Regions from separate parts of the Homo sapiens genome. Here regions 1, 3 and 4 are each linked to region 2. The links are contacts of gene promoters, found by promoter capture Hi-C in blood cells and fetal thymus (Javierre and others, 2016). All regions are on one chromosome and are shown on one strand. The core of a region is centred on a gene start or on the middle of the fragment in contact, and the rest is flanking DNA. Distances in the headings are between cores, read along the strand shown.

Evidence for each region. The method cuts DNA at HindIII sites, captures the fragments that hold promoters and counts their contacts. A CHiCAGO score of 5 or more calls a contact.
Region 1: a contact is called between a fragment that was not itself captured here and the fragment with the promoter of F3 in region 2, in 6 of 17 cell types (M2 macrophages, M0 macrophages, M1 macrophages and 3 more). The highest score is 27.6, in M2 macrophages.
Region 3: a fragment that was not itself captured here is called in contact with the fragment with the promoter of F3 in region 2 in 5 of 17 cell types (M1 macrophages, M0 macrophages, M2 macrophages and 2 more); the score reaches 10.7 in M1 macrophages.
Region 4: a fragment that was not itself captured here is called in contact with the fragment with the promoter of F3 in region 2 in 4 of 17 cell types (M1 macrophages, M2 macrophages, monocytes and 1 more); the score reaches 11.5 in M1 macrophages.

The regions. Positions count from the first base shown.
Region 1 is chr1:94,723,817-94,727,284 of GRCh38, forward strand. The region is part of intron 2 of SLC44A3-AS1 (SLC44A3 antisense RNA 1); the gene reads right to left. Among named protein-coding and RNA genes, the nearest start is that of MIR378G, 20 kb to the right of the region's middle. The HindIII fragment of the contact is 8,686 bases long and covers 1-3,468 here.
Region 2 is chr1:94,540,010-94,543,553 of GRCh38, forward strand. F3 (coagulation factor III, tissue factor) reads right to left here and starts at 1,750. Exons shown (of 6, transcript NM_001993.5): 1 at 1,528-1,750; 2 at 248-359. The coding sequence starts at 1,627. It overlaps LOC124904223 (a long non-coding RNA gene), which reads left to right and starts at 1,965. Exons shown (of 2, transcript XR_007066234.1): 1 at 1,965-3,544. RefSeq lists a silencer at 1,670-1,949. The HindIII fragment of the contact is 2,211 bases long and covers 483-2,693 here.
Region 3 is chr1:94,704,262-94,707,405 of GRCh38, forward strand. The region is part of intron 2 of SLC44A3-AS1 (SLC44A3 antisense RNA 1); the gene reads right to left. Among named protein-coding and RNA genes, the nearest start is that of MIR378G, 40 kb to the right of the region's middle. The HindIII fragment of the contact is 1,308 bases long and covers 911-2,218 here.
Region 4 is chr1:94,764,798-94,768,179 of GRCh38, forward strand. All of the region lies in intron 1 of SLC44A3-AS1 (SLC44A3 antisense RNA 1), which reads right to left. Among named protein-coding and RNA genes, the nearest start is that of MIR378G, 21 kb to the left of the region's middle. The HindIII fragment of the contact is 9,408 bases long and covers 1-3,382 here.

The DNA.
Region 1 (3,468 bases), core at 788-3,287, 180 kb after region 2:
TGCCTCCACAGAGCCCTAGCTCACTCCTCACTAAAAGGTGGTGAGGAGCCTTTGTCCACTGCTGCCCAGAATGAGGCTCTAGCTTCTTCACAAAGGGGTTCACAAGTAGTGAGGCCTGGGACTCCGGAGTCCAACCCTAATCCAGTCTGAGGCAGGCAGGACCCTGTGACATTATGTTCTTCTCACCGCATCTTGCACCTTACAGGGGGCCCCACAGTGTTGCAGGAGCAATGACTTGTGGCTTTGGGGAGGTCTTTGCTCTACTTCTGGACTCCGGCACTGGAGGCCTGATTCATATGCTGATGATGACACCAGAATTCCCCTTCCACTCCCTAACCAGGCTTGAAAGTCCAGCTTGCTTCCCAGCTCCCCGTCATGGCCTCATCCCTGCAGAGTCGGCACAGTCCACACTTCTCGCTGCCCATTCTGCTTGCTCTCCCTGGGCCAGCTACCCTTCTTTCAGTGCTGCTCATTCCAAATTGGCAGCTCACACCAGCCCCCTCTCCTGACTGCCAGATACCCTTCCTCTTCCTCCTCCTCGTGCTAATACTCAGTGTCTTAGTTTGTTTCGTGTTGCTGTAACAGAATACCACAGACTGGGTAATTTATTCATTTTATTTTATTTTATTTTACTTTTTTTGAGACAGAGTCTCACTCTCATCCAGGCTGGAGTGCAGTGGCATGATCTCATCTCACTGCAGCCTCCACCTCCTGGGTTCAAGGGATCCTCCTGCCTCAGCCTCCCGAGTAGTTGGGACTACAAGCATGCACCACCATACCTGGCTAAATTTATAAATTAAAAAGTTTATTTCTTATAGTTCTGGAGGCTCGGAAGTCTAAGGTCGAGGGGCCCTTGTCTGGTGAGGGCCTTTTTGCTGCATCCTCCCATGATGAAAGAGGAAAGGGCAAGAGCACACAAGACCGGACTCACTTTTATAACACTTCCTCTCTTGCAATAACAAATGCATGAGATTTGTTATTGATGATGTGATTAATCATTTATGAGGACCCATTAATCTATCCATTAACAACATTAATTCATTCATTAATCACCTCTCAAAGGCCCCACCTCCCAACACTGTTGCACTGGGAATTACGTTTTCAACACGTGAACTTCGTAAGCATTTACTGAGTGAATGTAAGCATTTACTGAGGGCTTACAATGTAGCAGACCCAGCATCAAAGTCTACAATATCTTATTTAATCCCGGTTAAGCACACCTCATGGCACTTGTTAGGGGTTCCACATGTACTGAATAAATGAGTCTTCACAATAATCTTTTGTGGAAGTTACTATTAATCTCTCCATCTCATAGATGAGAAAATGAAGACTCGGAGATGTTAAATAATCGGCCCACAGTCACAATGATGAGTGGCAGAGCTGGGATGTATGTCAATAGCAGGTCTGTTTCTAGGATCTATGTGCTTACCCACTGATATGCTGTCATTCATCTGTTCATTTAACAAATATTAATCCAGTACCTACTATTAGACACAGGAGTTGCAACGGAAAATAAAACAGACAAAATCTTTGATGTATAGAGCTAACATTCTAGTGAGAGAGACAAACATTAAACATGATAAGTAACATGTATGATGAATAGTGGTGAGAGCTAATAAAAAGATAAAGAAGGGAAGGAAAGAGTAAGGGGTGTCATTTTAGATGAATGAACAGGGAGGCTTCACAAAGAGGGGATCGTTGGGTAAAGCCCTGAAGGGGGTGAGGGAGTCAACTTAATCTAAGCAAAGGGCTTTGGAGCTAGGGTACCAGGTGCCAAGGCTCTGCGGTAGGAGAGTTCCTGACAAGTTCTAGGAATTGTGAGGAGACCAATGCCTTTGGAGCAGAGGCACTGAGTCTCCCTCAGTAATGGGAACTCAAAGAGTAGGAGGAGCCAGGTTGCATAGGGCCTTAGGTCTCTGTACAGAGTGGCATGAACCCTGAGTGTGATGTGATTCATCGGAAGATTACAAGGGGAGGCATGACGTGCTGATGTGGCTTTTGACAAGATTCCTCAGGCTGCCACACTGAGAGACATGGCAAATGCATCAGCATGGAGACCAGCAATCTGAACAACTGCTATGGCAATTCTTCAGATAAGAGATTATGGTGGCTGGAGCTTGGGTAGTAGCCATAGAAATGGTAGGAAGTGGTTTATTTGAAATACGTTTTCAAGATGGAACCCATAGGCTTCTAGCCTCCTGGGCTCGGCTGCCTGTTGGACACCTGCATGTTCCCCTCACACCTCAGACTCATCATATCAGAAACTGAACTCATTACCTTTCCCCTAGAAATATTCATCCCTCCTGTACTTTAATCCCTGTTATTACCACTCCCAGCTAGACAGTGGCCCAAGCCAGAAACCTGGGCACCATCCTCGATCCGTCTCTGTCCACCTTCCATTCTGCTTTCTCCTTCTTCATCCCCAACTCCACTGCCTTTAATTCAGTCCCACATCCCTCTGGCCTGGACTCTCAACAGTTTCCCTCCTCTGGCCTGGTTCAGCAAACTCCACAAGGAACCAGGATGATCTTTACTGGAAGCAGACCACATCCATTTAAAACTCTTCTGAGACTCTCTGCTGCCTGCTAAAGAAGTCCAAATTCTCTGGCCCAGAGATGTTCAAAAGAAATACAATGCAAGCCACATACATAATTTAAAATTTTCTAGTAGTCACATTAAAAAAGTAAAACAAAATAAGGTAATTGTAATAACATACATGATTAACCCAATATATCCAAAATATTATCTTAACATGTAATTGTCAAAAGACAAAATAACAACAAATTTAGTTTAATGATCTTAGTTGGATTTTATTTGTGATTCTAGAATGAGGCAACATCTTATTTTATAAAACAGAATAAGTGTTCCAATGGGCTGAGCAGATTTTATAGACAGAAAAGGGCTGAAGAAAGCAGAAACAGAATGAAAAATCAGAGTGGTTGTTTCAAAGCTGCTTTCCTTGTAAAGGTAAAAGCAGAGGGCACTTTCCTCATCATGCTGGCTAAAACTGACTCTTTTGGGGATTAGGCTATTATCTGTCTCTCTCTTGATTTCTCAGAAGGTCAGATAAACAATTTACTTTTGGCTTGATAGGGTGGAACTTCAGCACGCATAACTCCACTTTGGTTTGGTCTGCTGGGCCTAGTGCTCCTGCTCAGTCCAAACCAATGACATCTATAAATTTTATTAACATAAGGAATATTAAAAAGCATTAATGATATAGTTTGCATTCCTTTTTTCATAGTAAGTCTTCAATCTCTGGTGTCTACTTTACCCTCACAGCACATTGCACTTTGGACCAGTCACATTTCAGTCACTGAGGAGCAATGTGTGGCTACACACGGGACAGTGCAGCTCCAGCCAATCAACCACAGCCTTGCCCTTGGTATTCTCTAGCTCCTCTCCAGCCTCATCCCCACCCCCGCCCATGGTCCCTCACCTGCTTGTTTCCTGGGCTGCAGCAGATCT
Region 2 (3,544 bases), core at 500-2,999:
CACTTAGGAACTCTCCCATCATTTCCAAAAACAATTAAAACAATTAAAATGTTCTATCAGTTTAAGGTCTGGAAATGTTGCAGGCCTAATAGAGTATGACACCGGCCAGCGAATTGCCAAGAATCCCTTCTTCTTCGTCATCTGTTAAATAATTTCATCCAGTAATCAGCTTTAAAGACATTCTTGTTCAGCATAGGACAGTAGAAACATCAAAGACCTTAATTTTCTTTTTCTGTACCCAGCTTACCTTATTTGAACAGTGTAGACTTGATTGACGGGTTTGGGTTCCCACTCCAAAATTGTCTTGAAATTAGTTGATTTCCAAGTTAAATTATATGCTGCCACAGTATTTGTAGTGCCTTTAAACAACAGAGAAACAGCTATTATTACATGCACTTCAGAGCACTCGAATGTATTGATGTATAAAACACCTTCCCACCTGACATCACCATAAACCTCACTTTTTATTTTTCAACCACAAAAGCTTCATTAGTGAATTATCAAGAGAAAAAGAATCTTCAAATTTTTTCTAGACCTAGAATTTCTTCATGACAAGATTCACCTTGTAATCCCAGGACACCGGCAAGGATCTTGACATTTTCGTTTGAAATTATTCATGGGCAAAGCCTTGTTATAACTTGACCGGGAAGAGCCCAGAGCCATCAGTGTGCCAGTCCAGGACTCAGCTCAGGAAGAGTCAGGTTCAGCCCGCCAGGAAGGGTTTTCAGTAAGTTATGGAAAAAGATAAATCCCACACGTGTGACAAGAGTTAGGACTGCATACAAATGAAAAAAGCCAAACTTCACTTTTTCCACTTTTATCTGAAATGTCGCTACACTGAAACTTCCACAGAGACCCACGGGGACGTGTGGCCTGTCACACCGTCGGCTGTATTGGATCAGGATTATTTCTTATGAAGGTCTGCTTTGCCAGTACGCAGCAGGTCCCAGTCTCTACGCCGTCCCGAACACCTCGTAGAAATACGGGGCATGCACAACGTTGTACCTGCTCCAATCTAAGCAGCAATCCAGCCCTTTTGGATTGCCTCTACCCAAACCTAGAACAAAGATGGCCAGGAAAAGACCAGGGACGCTCTTTATTAAGGGAAGATGCACATATAATGAAAGATAATATCCAAACCTCTGCACGCCAACACGTGCAGACGCAGGCACAAGTCCTATCATATTGAAGGTCGCAACTCACTGGGAAGCCCTTTCCCCAGAGTTAAAGCGGGAGCTAAAAGTCCGCTTATGCAACAACAGTCCAATTACTCGGACACCCCGAGCAAAACTCTCCAGCGGAAGGGGCAGCGGGGTCTGGGGCGCCAACTCCCTCCCTGCAACTCCCGCCGGCGCCCGACGGACTCGGTTCATTCAAGCCGGGCTGGGTGAGCGCAGCCGAGTCCCGTAGGCGCGGGGGACAACATGGGCGCCCCGGGGAACCAGGGCGAGCCCGCTGCCAGCCAGGACTGTCGCCTCCCTCCTGCGTGTGGCGCGCCCCGGGCTTCCAGGGGCTGGTGCCACTCACCTGAAGCGCCGGCCACCTGGGCGAAGACCCAGCCGAGCAGGAGCGTCCGAGCGACGGCGGTCTCGGGGCGCGGGACCCGGGGCCAGGCAGGGGTCTCCATGTCTACCAGTTGGCGGCGAGATCGAGCGGGTTCCGTGGCGCCCGTGGGGCTGGGGAGGTTGGGCTGAAGGCGCCCTGGGCCGGCCAGAGGGAGTGCGAGGGGGTGCGGGGAGCTCGCAGTCTTGGGGAGCCGGTGCCCCGCGCGCTATAAAGGGCCGGCGGCGCGCTCTCCCGCGCCTCTGCCCGCCCCCGGCGCCCGCCCCCGCCGCTCCTCCCGACTCCCCGCCCCCGGCCCGGGTCACTTGCCGTCGCGGTGGGCGGCCCCCGGCGAGTCCACACCCCTGCCCCGCCTCCTCCCGGTAGGAAACTCCGGGACCCTGCAAGGGATGACTCACCCCAGTGATTCAACCGCGCCACCGAGCGCGGAGCTGCCCTGGAGGACGCAGGCGGGTCTAGTTGCCCGGGTCCCCCAAGGCCCCCGGATTCACCCAGGCCCGCGACTCCGACGTGCAGCTTAGGTGGGTTGCAGGTCTATGGCAGGAAAGGGAGGGCGCCTTGGAAGAATTCTTCCCTTCCATTTGGTGATAAAGTGGGAGAGGCGGCATTTACAACATTTAATAGAAAGCACGGGCTCTGGGCTCCCCTCGGGCAGCGGAGGGCATTTCCCGGATGCTTTGCCCACCTGGGGCAGAAGCTCGGGACCTGCAGCGAAGTAAACGTGTGGCTGTGAGCAGGGCCCTCTCCCAGCCACGGTGGCTTCTTCTACCCCACGAAGGTCAAGAATACCTGGCCTGCCCACCTCGCGGGGCCCTTAGCGGGTCGCACAGGAGAAAGGCGGTGGGAATGCCGGTGTCAGCCACGGTGTGACCGGCTCGGCTCACAGGTCTGAGGGTCAGTTGGCTCAGGCATCGCCCGGTACGACCAGAGATAGTGACTGAGGAAGAGCAGCCTCACATCTGGCAGTTTGCCTCTGGGAGAATTCCAGCGTGACATCTGCAGCTCTGTGGTTCCAGAAAGGATGGTTCCCACATTGAAGAAGACATCTGTGGGACTGAGTTCCACCGAAATGCAGAGGAACCAAAAATGAAAATGAAAAATGTAACCAGAGTTGTGTGCCACTAGTTTTAAGCTTTGGTTTTTCTAAATTATTTTCTGGCTTCTCCTTCTGGGCTTTGCTGTAAACTTGCCAAGCATGAGAACAACTCTTCATCTATTGAGTGGCATTTTAAGCCATCCTGTCAAAGTATCTCCTGTCATTTTTATTATTATTACTCTATATTGCCTGCAAGACACGACTGGAGAATTCTTAGTGTAAGAATTGTTTGTTTCCTCTCTCCTTCTTTCCCACGTTTTCCCAGGGAAGTCAGTCTTGCATTTTAATGCATACTATATACATATCTCGTTTAGCTTACTGAACCACTTGTTTTAACAGAATAAAACTGTGCAAAATTTTAATTTTCCTCCTTTGCCTGAACTGAAATAGCACATCCAGGTTTAGCCCTTGTAGACTTTCCTTCCTCGAAGCAGAAAGTTGCCCTTGATGATTTCCTCTTTGAGCTCTCTGCCAGCTCTGAAACCCACAAAATTTATGTTTGCAAAACTAAGCCATGCAATCCTCTTTTTATGCAGGCTCTAGCCTGAGTCATTTTCCCTAAGAGATCTTCAGCTCCACCTGGGATGTGATTCTTTGCTCTCTGGGATTGAAGGTAGCTGAAGAGAAATAGTTACACTTCAGGTTTGTTACAAGACCCAAGAAATTGTTGCAATTCCACTTGGAGTCACTGACTTTTCTGAAATCATATAGGGCTTTAAACAATGTCAAGATCAGCCATTTGATAAGAAAAATGTTTACCATTGGATTGTGATACACAATGTGCCTTAAATATTGATAAATTAGATGAATATTTATTTTGTATATCCATTAAAATAGACAGGAAAGAGAAGATGTTGGGTGTTTGCACAGGCTTTTTAGTCAGTA
Region 3 (3,144 bases), core at 315-2,814, 160 kb after region 2:
GGGGAAAATTGGGTGAAGAGTACACAGTCCCCCTCTAAACTACTTTTTGTACCTTCCTTTGAATCTATAATTATTCATTACCTGGATAGTCATCAAGTTGTTAATCCACTCACAATAACTGAGACTTAACTCTATTCTCCCATTGTAGACAGCAAATCTTTACAGGGACTGAGGCTTATATCTCTTTATGCCCTCCATATTCTGGCCACAGCTGAGTGCTCAGTATGTTTCTAAATGATAGCTGTCCTTGATCTCCTTTGGTGCTTGCCTCAAATTGGAATCTTTGCCCCTGCGTCTTTACCTAAAACTGTCTGATGTATCCATCAGCCAGGCCCTGAGAAGCCCCACTTGTTCCAGATTCTTCAGATCCTCCTGGCAGCAGCAGGCCAGTCCAAATGAACATTCCACTCTGTACTTTCCAAGAAAGTGGAAGCTCCTTGAGGCAGGATCTCCTTCTGTCATGTGCACCACTGTATCCCCATCCCCTAGAGTAGTGTCCAATATATAGTAGGGACTCAGAAAATATTTGTGGACTGACTATCCATTAAAAAGAAAGAGAGAGAGAGAGAAAGAGAGAGAGAGAGAAAGTAACGAGCAAAACAATCTTGCATGCAATCTAGCATGCAAAAAAGTCATAGGTCAACAAGGCTCGCTCTTCTAATAGGAAGAAGGAAGCAATCTTTATATGTGTGTCTCTTATAGAGGCCCATCTAAAAACACCTTCATGAGCCACCCTATGTGCAGTGATTTTTCCTTCTTCAGAATTTGCACAAACACCTCAAAGAATTGTTACTGTGTGGTGCACTCAGTTGAATTCTATCCAGGCATTCACTAAGCCATACTGTGTGTTGGGCACTGTACCAGCAATGGGGGTTCAGAGATTAGCAAAGTCTGCTTCCTGTCCCAAAGAAGCTTCCGGCACAATCGGGGGAGACAGACAAGCAGATCATTCCTATGGGTGTGCCTAGGGTGCTAGGATGGCACAGAAGAGAGGAATCCCGGTATAGTCTGGGAACATTGGGGTGGGCTCCCAAGTTATCAGACAGATGGGGAGATGGACAGGCAGGCAGATGACCACTACTGAGTTTTGTGCCAAACACCATGCTGAATATTATACACATCCTCTCACTGAGGCTTCTACAACTCCATAAGGCCAGTTTTATTCTTTCCAACTCACCTGAATCTGGGAGGACAAGTAGGATCGGGCAGGTAAGAGGAAGGGGAAAGGTGATCCCAGGTTCAGAGAACATCATGAACAGAAGCAGGGAAGTGTGCACACCGGGACTGTCTGGGGACCTGCAAGCACAAGTCATTTGTATTACTGGGGCAAAAACTTGACTGAGATCAAAATGGAAAAGGAACCAGAAGTAACCAAAAGAATCAACCCCAGAAGGTTTTGTTTGCCATGCCAAAAATGACAACGGTCTTCAGACCAGTCTCTATGGAAGCCTGGCATTCATGGGGCTAGGCCATGAGTTACTGCACATGTTTGGTGCTAATTTCATTAAAATGTGTTTCAGATAATATTGTAGCAGATGCTGTTTGTACCCTGCCCATACTTCCTGCTCCTTGACATTGCATTACACACTAGCCCACTTCAAACTGCCAGCCCTTGCATTGCTTTGACTGAGTTTTCTTTGACAGACAGAGTCCACTGTGCCTGACCACATGGCCGGTTGCCCACACCCCACAGCTCTCAGACAACGGAGTTGGTTATAAAATTCCAGCTCCATTTCCCCTTGGGAGAAATAACTCTGAGCCACAGGTCCTATGCTGGCTCTCAGAGCTCCCCAGTGGGGTTAGCTCTGGTTGTCCACAGCGGTAATTTACTTGATCAATTTTCCTCCACTGGCTACCTTCCCTTTCCCATCTTTTGTCCTCACCTTCCTGCAAGGTGTTTCCTGAGAGCACCTCTTAGATGAGCTGCTTGCATTTAAATCCTGTGTCAAAGTCTGTTCCTGGGGCAACCCAAGCTAAGACACACACACACACACACACACACACACACACACACACACAGAGGCATAGACTATCTCTGGTAGGATTCAAAGAAACTGATAAATGTGGTGTGGCGTCTGGGAAGAAAAACATTTCTTGGGAACAGGGCTGAGGGAGGAGACTTATTTGTCACAAAATATACTTTTTTTGTTGTTTTCACCTTTTGGCTTTTGCACCATTTCCATGAATTTTCTATTTAAAAAAATAAAATAACTTCCAAAGCTTGACCAGAGGCAATCAAAGAAAACCAATAAATCCTGTTAAAATTAAATAAATACTTTTTTAAAAGCTACCCAAAATATGTACTTTAAATCATTTAAAAAATCAACTGTGATTTTACAACAACATAGTCACATGCGCTTTGTATCAAAACATTGTAACATGTTGGAGACCACCAACGTATTAACTCATGTTGCCAGGAAAATTCTCTTTGAGATAGTCTGAAAAATTTATCTTTTCTGCTAGTTTCATTCATAACTTTGAATGTTTAACAGAGGTGTCACTGATTAGTAAGATTGTAGCTCTATATAGGTGATTTCTTAAAATCCAGGTCCATGCATGTCCTCTCAATTTGTACAAGCATACTACTATGGTAAACTGAGTCACACTCAACCAAATTCACACAGGCAAAACCTAGGTGATCACGATCCCTCCCACTGCATAATGGTGAGTTGTGCAGTCAGGATCATATCACACGAGCACCTGTCCTGAGGCTGGGTTGCTTTTGATTTGACTTTTACATTTAACACAGGGAGTAAAAGCACTTAGATATTGTTAATGATTCAACTTAGAATCAAATTTTCCTCCTACTCCACATTTAAGGTATTGGGTCTGTTTAATTGAGCGCATCCTGAGATTTCAAGGCAAGCTGTTTAAAAATTAAAAATAAAGTAAAGCAAAACAATTTTATGACTTACTTCTGTGAATTGAACTTTCTCAACATTGGACAATAGAAACAAATGCAGGAATAAATTGAATACCAAGGCTGACATAAAACTGCAACTGTACCCATGACCATGAATGTCAAATGTTTACACTTCTTAAAATACTCACATTGTTCAGAGTGACTGGCTTTATAACAATGTGTGCCTATAAAGTACATATCTACCAATAAGATAACTTTTCATCTGTTTCTTCTATTGGTTT
Region 4 (3,382 bases), core at 316-2,815, 220 kb after region 2:
CAAATGTCACCTTGTGCATGAGGACCTCCCTAGTCACACTGTCACCCTGTCCTGCTTTATCTTCCTCCATAGCACTCCTCACCACTCAACATCATCTTAATTATTTACCTGGTTTATTTCTTGCCACTCCATACCACCACCTCCCTCACACACAGACAGTCCCACAGAACACATAGTCAATTGTTAGCTACATGAGGACAGGGATCTCTGCCGGTTTTACTCACTGTTGCATTCTTACTGTCTTAAACAGTACCTTGTTGGCACATTGAAGTTCATTTATAAACATTTGTTGAATACATGAATGGGAATAAATACTTTAGTTGAAGTAATATCATCTAGGGAGCCATGGGAGAATTTGAATCCAGGTCTTTTGCTCTAGCTTTTCTACCAAGTAATATCCATTAAAATATTTTCAGCTATAATAATAGAATACCCAAATAAAATAATGAAGATAAAGTACTATCTTACAAAACAAGATATTCTGAGGTAGGTGTTTTCATGGTTGATTACTTCAGTAGCCCAGTGATGGTATCAAGGCCCTAGGTGGGTTTTTTGTTTTTGTTTTCTTACCTTTTCTCATTGCCATCCTTACTTATTGTAGCATGTTGTATTTCTCAAAAAATGCCACACCTACATATTTATCTCATCGCACATAATTTTCACACAATGTGACTGGCAACTGACACTCCTCCCATTAAGGGAAGGGTCTGTGTTCTCTCTTCTCAAATCTAGGCAGGGGATTGTGACTGTCCCAGTCAATGGAGTGGGGCAGAAGTGATGCTATGTGACTCTTGAGGGTAGATCACAGAAAGGATACAGCTTCCACCTGGCTCTCTGTTTTCAGATGCTTGCCTCTGGAACTCAACCACCATGTTGTGAGGAAATCCAGGACACATGGAGAAGCCAACATAGAGAAAAGCTAAGGCCTCCCTCCAACGGGGAGCATCAGCTTGTCTGCCATGGAGTTAGCTATCTTGGAAGTGAGTCCTTCAGCCCCAGTCAAGCCTTCAGATAGTTACAGCTCCAGCCAACATGTGATTGTAACTTCATGAGAAATCTCCAAGCCAGAACTGCTCTCAAATTCCTGACTCACAGAAATCATGGGAGATTATTATTATTGTTGTTTTAAGCCACTACATTTTGGAGTAATTTGTCAGAGAGCATTGGATAAATAACATACTTTGCATATTGTCCTTGGGTTTATCCCTTCATAGTTAAAGCATGGCTTCTTTAGCTCCTGATAGCACATCATCTTTTCAGGTAAATACAACAATATTTTGGATACAGAATTCAATTAATCTGCATAGTTGACATCAAGAAACTAGTAACTTCTGAATCCAAATCTTGATCCAGGATTGCATCACTAAGAGCTACAGGACTGGCTAGATGTTTATACTCTTTTTAATCAAAAGCAGGAAGCTACTCTAAAATACTTGAGACAATTCACTTATCTTTACCACTAGTAAGTTCACGAATGAATTTCTGTTTGGAGCATCCACTATGCTAAGAAGCCACGGATTTCATCAACGGAAACCTATTTCTAACATTAAGTATGCCAGTTAGCAGAGCCTCTACCATTGATCATAGATAAAGGTCATGGGAGCTCTTGTAGTAGCTGCTTCTGGAGTACAGTTTTCCTAATTCGAATGCTGGCTCTCCACCCTAGGGTGCAAATTCCCAATTTGGGCAAATGACTGTACCTAAGGTATAATGTAACCCATAATACACACATGAGATCATGATGCTTGTGATGAAGTATATTCAGTTACAGACAGTTTTATACCCAACCTGGCTTTCTTACATTTAGTTCATTCTCACCTCCCCTTTCAAGCACTCTGTCAATCTCAGTATTAATTTTCTCTCACTTCTGAGGAGTCCCATCCACTCAAACACAGGAATGGGTTTCCTTTCTGATATTCCTGCCAGTATACGTTCCAGAGACCTTGTTTTGGCTCCTGTGTCAGCTCAGTGCTTGCCTATTTCCCAAGGAAGACAGTAATCCTTGTAGACAGTTCAGTTCAATCCTATATTAAAGAAGGTTCAAACCTATATTAAAGAAGGACATATGCTATATTTCTTTAACTGCCTCATAATTTGCAATTAGAGTCAGTAACTCTCATAATGGCTGAGGCTGCTTGGAGCCTGCTGGATTAAGACCAGGATCATATTATTTTTTAATGGCTGCCTTTTGGGTTTTACAAGAAAGACACTGAAAAGATAACGAATACATTACATTCCCATCAAATATCCATGTTCTCCTCAGTCTCCATCTGGGGATAGATAGGAAATGCCCTATTCTCTCAGTGGCAGACATCAGCCAAGGTTTATCAAGCCATATGGATACATGGGCATTTACTAAGGAAGGTGGAGATGCCAATAAAGCAGGGGCTATGAAGGTTAACCCCAGGAGAGAGCCTGGATTCCAGGCCACTGCTGCCAACACTGTGATCCTAAACATGCTCCTTAACCTTTCTTGGCCCCTACATTTCCTTTTCTATAAAACAAAAGGTCATGAGATCCCTTCTAGCTGGAGAGGCTATTTCTGGCTACCTAGAGTTGTCACTTCTGGGCAAACCTGGTATTGCTGCCCTCTTTGTTGTTTCCATTTTTTATTTCCCTCCTCCCTCCTTTTTTTCCACAGAGTACCTACTATGATCTCAGAACAGTCCCTGCCCTCAAGCACTTCTCCACCTAGTAGAGGACATAGCAATGATAATTATTATAATCATTATTATTTTAATGAGAATAAACACTAAAATGCTAACTGCCAATATTTACTGGGCTCCCACTATAAGCCAGGTATTATGCTAAGTGCTTTTCATGCAACAGCTCATTTAATTTAATTCTTGCAATACCCCTAAGAGGGATGAACTGTTATTCTACCAGTTTGTGTTTCAGGGAAGTCAAGTGATGCACCTCAAAGCCCATAGCTCTTGCCTGATAGAGCCTTTTGAACAAATAAAAAATCACAGTGCCACACGACAAGTGCTATCATACTGGCATGCACAAAAAGCAGTGAGCAGCTACCAAGAAGGAGAAAAAAAGATCCCTCCCTACATGAATCTGGAAAGACTCTTTGAAGAGGTATCATTGAAGAATAAGAGTAACTTTACCTGATGCAGAAGAATCTCATTGCAAGATTAGATTAACCCGTAACTTAGAAAGTGATGAAGAAATAATAAGTATCACTGTTTTCTAATAATATTACAGTAAAGGAGATGACTTGGGTTTTCATCTGGCTATGTGTTAATGTGGATGATGCACGTTTTTTCACAACATGCACGCATACAAAGATACCCACTTCATGGTTTCAATTATTGCTTCATTTCCTCCTTTGTGCTAAGTGATGCTGCCTATTTGTTGAAAGGGTACAAGAGTTCTC